Linked DNA regions of Homo sapiens: all the other regions are linked to region 1. Evidence: promoter capture Hi-C in human tissues and cell types (Jung and others, 2019). All regions are on one chromosome and are shown on one strand. The core of a region is centred on a gene start or on the middle of the fragment in contact, and the rest is flanking DNA. Distances in the headings are between cores, read along the strand shown.

Region 1 (2,694 bases), core at 67-2,566:
GCCAGCCTAAGCAGCATAGCGAGACCCCGTCTCTACAAAATAAAAAACTTTAAAAAGTTAAAAAGAATTTTGGAAAGAGCAGTATCACATAGAAAATTAATGAGACTGTATCATCGAGGAGAGCCATGTCCTAAAAGAAAAAAAAAAAAGCTATTCATCATGATGCAAGACTTCAAAATATGTTAATCATCATAAAAGTTGGGCAGTTCATGTGGACAATCGCCATGCAATTGCCCATAATCTATCCCTGCAATACACTTTTTCTATGTTGAATTTTCTTTTTAGTTTGCTTTCGTTTTTCTATTTTCTCTTTTAGCTTTTTCATTATTGTAAATTGTCAGCATTATGTTTTACAATTCACTATGCTATGTATTACATCTTAACATCATTTCTAATACTGGAGGCATCAACTATATAAAGACTTTTAGAGAGTTCAAATTTGTTTTATGCATTTTTTGCAAATATGACTCAATCAAAGCTCATTATTACAATGGTGACTGTGTAAGCATTCTACATATATGCAAAAATGTAGAAATTTCCTCGATAAATAAATAAGTGTCTTTTCTGTACATCTGCATTTGTGAAAGATGAAATTTCTCAGGATCTTGGCTCCTCGGGTGACTGGCACAGTGGTGACGTCATGGTGACCCATCCTGTCAAAAGAGTTAGGTTGTCTCTCATGGTATATCAGATGACCGCAGTTATAAAGCTGGGTGCACACTATTACCGAACATAATTATATGTTTATACATTTCACTTTTTGAACACTTTTTTTTTTTTTTTTCTGAGAGACAATCTCGCTTTTTCGCCCAGACTGGAGTGCAGGGGCACCATCTCGGCTCACTGCAACCTCTGCCTCCTGGGTTCAAGCAATTCTCCTGCCTCAGCCACCCAAGTAGCTGGGACTACTGGCGCCCGCCACCACGCCTGGCTAATTTGAACATTTTTTTATGAATACATTTCATCTGCTCATCCCTATGTGACTGTTGCTAGTATACCTGAGGTGGGTGTGGCCGGGCGGGAACCTCCAGGCTCCCAACTAGCGCCTCGCCCCGCTTCGGCTCCAGCTAGGCGGCGCTCCCCACCCACCCGCAGCAGCCCGCCTGGCGGCTGGGCCCGAGACCCGGAGCCCCTGACTTGGGGCCCGACGCGGGGAGGCGGGGATCGGGTGGCCGAGGCTGAGACTTCGGGGCCGCCGGGGTGAGTTGCGGGGCGGCGGCGGGAGGGGGCGCTGCGAAGCCCCGCGACCGCCGCGCGGAGGAAGTGCTCTCTTGGCTGCCGCCGCCGCCGCCGCCGCCGCCGGAGCCGCGCCGCGGGGGTTGCCCGAGCGGCGCTGCGGGGGCTGACATGTCGTCCCGGCCTGGGCGCGAGGACGTGGGGGCTGCGGGCGCGCGGCGGCCGCGTGAGCCGCCGGAGCAGGAGCTGCAGCGACGTCGGGAGCAGAAGCGGCGGCGACACGACGCGCAGCAGCTGCAGCAGCTCAAGCACCTGGAGTCCTTGTGAGTCCCGAGCTGCCGTCCGCGCGCGGCCAGTCTTCTGAAGCCAGGGGCCCGGGGCGCGGGACGCCGCGGTGGGCGCTAGGCCGGGTCCTCCGAGCCCCCGCGAGCAGGCAGGGGGGCTGGGCCCGGCAGGAGCCTGGTGCGGGCGACCGATGTCGGGCGCCGCGGTCAAGGACTTGAAGTCCATCCTCCTGGCGGGGCGTTCAGGGAGCCAACTGCCGCTCGGCACCAAGCAGAATCTGACTTGGGAGGCCCTGCGCTTCCCTAGCTCCAGGGGGTTCCAGGAGAGTCCAAATGACCCGGGAGAGTGTGGTGTAAAGAAGATTCAAATGTAGGGGAAGGAAATATGGTTTCCCTCTACCCTTCTAAGTTCTTAAGCTGGGCCACAAATTAAATTGTCATAAGACAGATTAACAGGAGAAAAACTTTTAATTATGTACCCGTGCACTAGAGGGCCACAAAAGTGGGAGACAAAGAAGGGCCAGGGAATAGGGGCGTGGGCCTTTTGGGGCGTGGTGGAGACCTTTTGGAAGGGTGATGGGGGAAATGTATGGTGAATAAAGGTTGCTTTGTTATCCCGATGAGGCGCTCAGGCGATAAAAGTTGCCCCCAAGCAGCTGTCTTCCTGATACAGATACATTTACTACAGAAAATTTCCTTTATAGGTGTAAATTTCTGTTTACAACAGGCGAGTCGAAAAATAATAAGAACAAAAGGAAAAAAAGCAGTCATACTTTATTTTAGGCAGTTGAGGGGTAGCTGAATAAGTTATCCTGTGTTGTTTGGTTCTGTTACTTATAGCTCAAAGTCATCAATATGCCAGGGTGGCATGTTTGGGGATGGTGCATTCTTGTCTTTTGCAGTCATTTATCAGGGTGGCGTTTCCTAAATTCTAACACAGACCTCGAGTGGAAAGTTCAGGCAGCAACTCTTTCAGTTCTTGTCCGTGATTCTATAATTAGCTGCATAAAACAACCTTTTCTAAGTGTGGCATTCACTCAGTTATTCAAGAATTCGTTTCTGTTTTAGCCACTTCTAGTTACCTGTGCTAAGTAGGTGTTAAGTATAGCCTAACGCTGCCTCCTTGAATATTTTAAGTTTAGCCTAAAAGTTTCTCTGTACTTAGTGAACTGTAACCTAAGTAGATGTGTAAACAGACTGTAACCTACTGTTATAAGTACCTGAGTCTCAGACA
Region 2 (2,694 bases), core at 111-2,610, 62 kb after region 1:
TTTTGAATCCCCTCTAGTACACTTATAGCAAGCATAGATCGATCATGTGATTCACTATAGATTTCAGAAAACTAACTTATGAGGTCCACATTCATGGGTTTCCAGTCATGTGACCTAACTTTAAAGAAGTCTTAATAATTGGACTCATGAGTACCTGAATTATGATCCAGCTTTTTATAAGGAATTTGTTTATTTTAAACTATTTACCAGGCCGGGCAAGGTGGCTCATACCTGTAATCCCAGCACGTTGGGAGGTGGAGGCAGGAGGATCACCTGAGCCTAAGAGTTAGAGACCAGCCTGGGCAAAATAAGGGGACCTCATCTCTACTAAAAATCAAATACATCAAAAAAAAACCACACACACACACACACACACAAATCAAATGTATCAATACTATAAATGAAGACGCCATTTATGGTATTATCTTACATCCTGTTTTCTTGGACCTGACCTACCTATTGCAACATAAATGTCATTTCCTCTAAAAGTTTATTTAAATACAGAATTTAATCCTATTTAAGTAAGAAATCAAAAGACACACACACACACACACACATACACATATAAAAGCCAGGTGTGGTGGCACATGCCTATAGTTCCAGCTACTTGAGAGGCTGAGGCAGGAGGATCACTTGACCCCAGAAGGTTGAGGCTGGTAAGCTAAGATCATACCACTGCACTCCAGTCTGGGTGATAGAGTGAGACCCTGTCTCAAATAAATAAATAATTTATCTATTTTATTTTGTATTGATTCTTTTTATATCATACAATACACGTTGATATAAAAGTGAATCTAGATGAGCAAAAGAAATCTATAATTTTCACCACCTTAAAAGACCCCCGTTTTAGTAAGTGTACTTCCTTTATTTTTCTATGTATATAATTAAGTATAATTTTTTTACCCAAATGAAGTCATTCTGTAATGTTTTAAATCAAGATTGTTTACTTAATTTGTTTATAAATTTATACTTATATTTTCATAACTATATTGTATTTATGCTATTATATCACATGGATATCATAACTATTTAAAAATGTATTTAATTGATGCATAGTATTCAACTCAAGTTATCACCCGCCAGTCCTTCATATGATTTCAGATAATTTTGCTACTAGTTACTATTAATTCATGAATTTAAATCTCAAAATAATTTTGTTTATTGTTCTCTTGCCTTAGTATTTACTTAATGTGTTTATGTGGCACAGTAAGAAGGAAGGGTAGTAAGTTAAATCTTAACTTTTTACTCCTCATTTAGATGTACTCGATATAGTGCACCAATAATAAAAGCTTAAATTGCATTACCTTTTTGCCATTTTTAATTTAACTTATAACAAAATAGTGATCTTAAACAATATTGTTTGTTTCTTTTTAAGGGCAGGAATACCAATTGTGAGATGTAGAAGGAGTCCAAAATTAAAACAGAAAGCTTTTCATCTTGTTTCATTTCAATCATAGAGATTCAGCTATAATAAAATAAAAAGATTCGGGAGGCTGAGGTGAGAGGATCGCTTGAGCATAGGAGTTCAAGACCAACCTACTACACCCCATAGCAAGACCCGACTCTTAAAAAAAAAAAAAAAAGAAGCCAGGTGTGGCAGGGTGCACCTGTGGTCCCCACTACTCCAGAGGCTAAGGCAGTAGAATTGTTTGAACCCGGGAAGCAGAGGCTGCAGTGAGCCAAGATTGCACCACTGCACTCCAGCTTGGGCGACAGAATGAGACTCCATCTCCAAAAAAAAAAAAAAAGTCAGTGCTAAGCATCTTGAAATATTCAAACATATGGCATTTGAAAGGAGAGCCAGGAAAGACTCCCTTCATTTATGTTATTGTCTTACATCCTATTTTCTTGAACCTGACCTACCTATTGTAACATCAGTGTCATTTCTGCTAAAAGTTTAAAACAGAATTTAATGCTTTTTAAGTAAGAAAGTAAAAAAGATATAGTTCATGTTCAACAATTTTACTTGAGTTTTTGAAAATTAAATTACTTGATCTAGATTTTTGCAATTTTTTTTTTTTTGAGACAACCTCCCCCTGTCACACAGGCTGAAGTGCAGTGGCATGATTGTACTGCAGCCTCTACCTTCTGGGCTGAAGTGATCCTTCCACCTCAGCCTCCTGAGAAGTTGGGGCTACAGGCACATGCCACCACACTTGGCTAATTTTTTAACATTTTTTGTGGATACAGGGCCTCTGTATGTTGCCCAGGCTGGTCTCAAACTCCTGGGCTCAAGCAATCCTTCTACCTCGACTTCCCAAGGTGCTGGGATTACAGATGTGAGCCTCAGCCCCAGGCCTAGATTTTTGCAAAGTTTAAGAAATACATTGAGATGGGAACCATAGGTTCTCATCAGTTTGCATATACATATGTCTGTAAATTCATAAGGCTGCAATCAGTCTCACTCACAGTCATCTACTAGGATAAGTTTTTGCAGTGATCTTAAATGATAAAAAACATGAGGCTGGGCGTACTGGCCTAGCGCCTATGGTCCCTGGGAGGTTGAGGTGAAAGGATCACTTGAGCCCAGGAGTTCCAAGCTTTAGTGTGCTGTGCCAATCAAGTGTCTGCACTAAGTTCGGCATCAATATAGGAACCTCCTGGGAGCAGGGGACCACCAGGTTGCCTGAGGAGGGGTGAACTAGCCCTGGTTGAAAACAGAGCAGGTCCATACTCCTAAGCTGATCAGTGGTG
Region 3 (2,694 bases), core at 52-2,551, 37 kb after region 1:
TTACTGCCAACAACTAGCTTCTGTAGCATGTGGATTACCCCCTTGTTTAAGAGCCATCTCAGCCATAGTTGCACTTCTCAAGGCTACTCAGGAAATTGTAATGAAAGTTCCACTACGTATGTACCTCCTTCTGCTGAAGCTCTTCTAAATTTGCATTGCACTTAACCTTTTTCTATTAGCAGGTTGGCTTCTTTTGTTTTGTTGAGACAGGGTCCCACACTGTCACCAGGATAGAGTGCAGTGGCATGATCATAGCTCACTGCAGCCTCAATCTCCTGGGCTCAAGCAATCCTCCCATCTCAGCACCCCTGAGTAGCTGGGATAACAGACATGCCACCACACAACCAGCTAATTTTTTAATTTTTCTGTAGAGTTGGAGGTCTCGCTATGTTGCCCAGGCTGGTCTCAAACTCCTGGGCTCAAGCCATCCTCCCGCCTCAGCCTCCCAAAATGCTGGGATTATAGGAGTAAGCAACCGTGCCTGGCCAGCTGGTGTCTTATGAGATACTTTTACTCTCTCCCTCACATAATACAATCTTCATTATAATGCTCTTAAGCTCACTTCCCTGCTGCCTAAAGTGACTGATGAGATGCCCTGTGATTATATATCACTAACAGTATAGCTCTTGATGGCCAGACAGGATTTGTTAAAACAAAACAAAACAAAACAAAACAAAAAAACACTAGAGAATGCTGATGTTATTTGGTGATAGATCATATCTAAAGGATAAATATTGGAAAATATTGAGCAGGCTATGCTGTTGTGTCTTTTGTGGACATTACAAAAAGTAAGCCTTTCCTTATGGTGATATCACCTCAGCTGGCTGAATTAATAGAGCTCACTAGAACTTGCCAGTTGGCCAAAGATCAGACAGCTAAAATTTACACTGACAGTCACTATGCTTTTGGTGTAGCTCATGACTTCGGAATGTTACAGAAATAACAAGGTCATCTGACTTCCTCTAGACACCCTACAAAACATGGCTCTCACGTCTCTAAACTTATAGAAGCCATTCAATTACAAAAATAAATTTGGCTATAAGATCCCTAGATATTCAAAAACTGAGTCTCTGGAAAGTAAGGGAAGCCATTTTACTGATGTAGCAGCAAAGACAGCTGCCCTATTACCAGTATGAGATGAAATCATAGAAATAGCCATGCTTAAATGGAACCCAATTAAAAGGGAATGTCAGGATGCTCAAGAAAGAGCCTCAGAAAAGGAAAAAGAAATATGATTAGCAGGCTGAGTGTGGTGGCTCATGCCTGTAATCCCAACACTTTGGGAGGCTGAGGCAGGAGGATCACCTGAGCCGAGGAATTTGAGACCAGTCTAGGCAACATGGTGAAACCCTGTCTCTACAAAAAAAAAAATACAAAAATTAGCCAGGCATGTTGGCAGGTACCTGCAGTCCCCAGTTACTCAGGAGGCTGAGGCAGGAGGATTGATTGGGCCCAGGAGGTTGTGGCTGCAGTGAGCCATGATTGTGGCACTGTACTCCAACCTGGTAGACAGAATGATACCATGTCTCAAAAAAAGAAAGAAAAGAATGAAAGAAAAGAGAGAGAGAAAAGAAATATGGTTAACAAAAGGCAAATATTCCCCGCTACCACTTGTAACCTATGGTATGGACTCAATGACAAACCCATTTGCCTATGGGATTTCAATTTCCTATGTTACAACACATCTATGAGCTTATACACTGGAGACCTAAAAAAAAAAAATGATTGCATGAGAAAAACAATACTACTGAAAACCTTCACCCACAATAGCTTATAAGGTTTATGCTAAATAAACATAATCTAGCCCCTCTGTGAGTCACAGAGGCACTTCTCCCTTTCTGCTGGACCCTTTGATATTTGACAAACACATTTCGTTCAATTATCTCCTGTTCAGGGATATAAATTCATGTGGGTTATGATTTGCATGTTCTCCCACTGGGTTGAAACATTCCCAAGCAAAAGAGCCACAATGCAAATTATAAGAAAATGTCTGTAATAGTCCATTCTCAGACTGTTATAAAGAAATACTGAGACTGGGTAATTTATAAAGAAAAGAGGTTTAATTGGCTTTGGGTTCTGCAGGCTGTACAGCAAACATAGAAGCTTCTGCTTCTGGGGAGGCCTCAGGAAACTTACAATCATGGCAGAAGGCAAAGAGGGAGCAGCACTTCACATGGCCAGAGAAGGAGCAGGGGTGGTGTGGGGTCGGGGTGGGGGAGGCAGGGGACATGCTACACACTTTTAAACAACCAGATCTCACAATAACTCACTCACTGTCACAAGAATAGGGGATGGTGCTAGCCTATTCATGAGAACTCTAACCCCATGATCAATCATCTTCCACCAGGCCCCACCTCCAACACTGAGAATTACAATTCAACATGAGATTTGGTGGGAACACAGGTCCAAACCATATTATTGCACCCCGGGCCCCTCCAAATCTCATGTCCTTCTCATGTTGCAAAATAAAATAATTCCTTTTCAAGAGTCTCCCGAAGTTTTAACTTATTCCAGCATTATCTCGAAAGTCCGAAGTCTAGTCTGAGATAAGGCAAGTCCCTTCTATTTATGAGCCTGTAAAATCAAAAACGAGTTAGTTACTTCCAAGATACAATGGGGTACAGGCATTGGGTAAATACTCTCGTTCCAAAAGGGGGAAATTGGCCAAAAGAAAGGGGCTACAGGCCCCATGCA

What was found. Contacts are between HindIII fragments. The study calls those that stand out against the background at their distance.
Region 2: a fragment that was not itself captured here is called in contact with the fragment with the promoter of RP9 in region 1 in 1 of the 25 tissues and cell types used here (hippocampus).
Region 3: a contact is called between a fragment that was not itself captured here and the fragment with the promoter of RP9 in region 1, in 1 of the 25 tissues and cell types used here (lymphoblastoid cells).

The regions. Positions count from the first base shown.
Region 1 is chr7:33,108,026-33,110,719 of GRCh38, reverse strand. It overlaps RP9 (RP9 pre-mRNA splicing factor), which reads left to right and starts at 1,316. Exons shown (of 6, transcript NM_203288.2): 1 at 1,316-1,499. The coding sequence starts at 1,348. RefSeq lists silencers at 941-1,420, 1,431-1,660. The HindIII fragment of the contact is 15,438 bases long and covers 1-2,694 here.
Region 2 is chr7:33,045,860-33,048,553 of GRCh38, reverse strand. All of the region lies in intron 1 of NT5C3A (5'-nucleotidase, cytosolic IIIA), which reads left to right. It also overlaps the pseudogene RN7SL505P. Among named protein-coding and RNA genes, the nearest start is that of NT5C3A, 16 kb to the left of the region's middle. The HindIII fragment of the contact is 3,512 bases long and covers 1-2,694 here.
Region 3 is chr7:33,070,847-33,073,540 of GRCh38, reverse strand. All of the region lies in intron 2 of LOC124901610 (a long non-coding RNA gene), which reads right to left. Among named protein-coding and RNA genes, the nearest start is that of NT5C3A, 9.4 kb to the right of the region's middle. The HindIII fragment of the contact is 6,422 bases long and covers 1-2,694 here.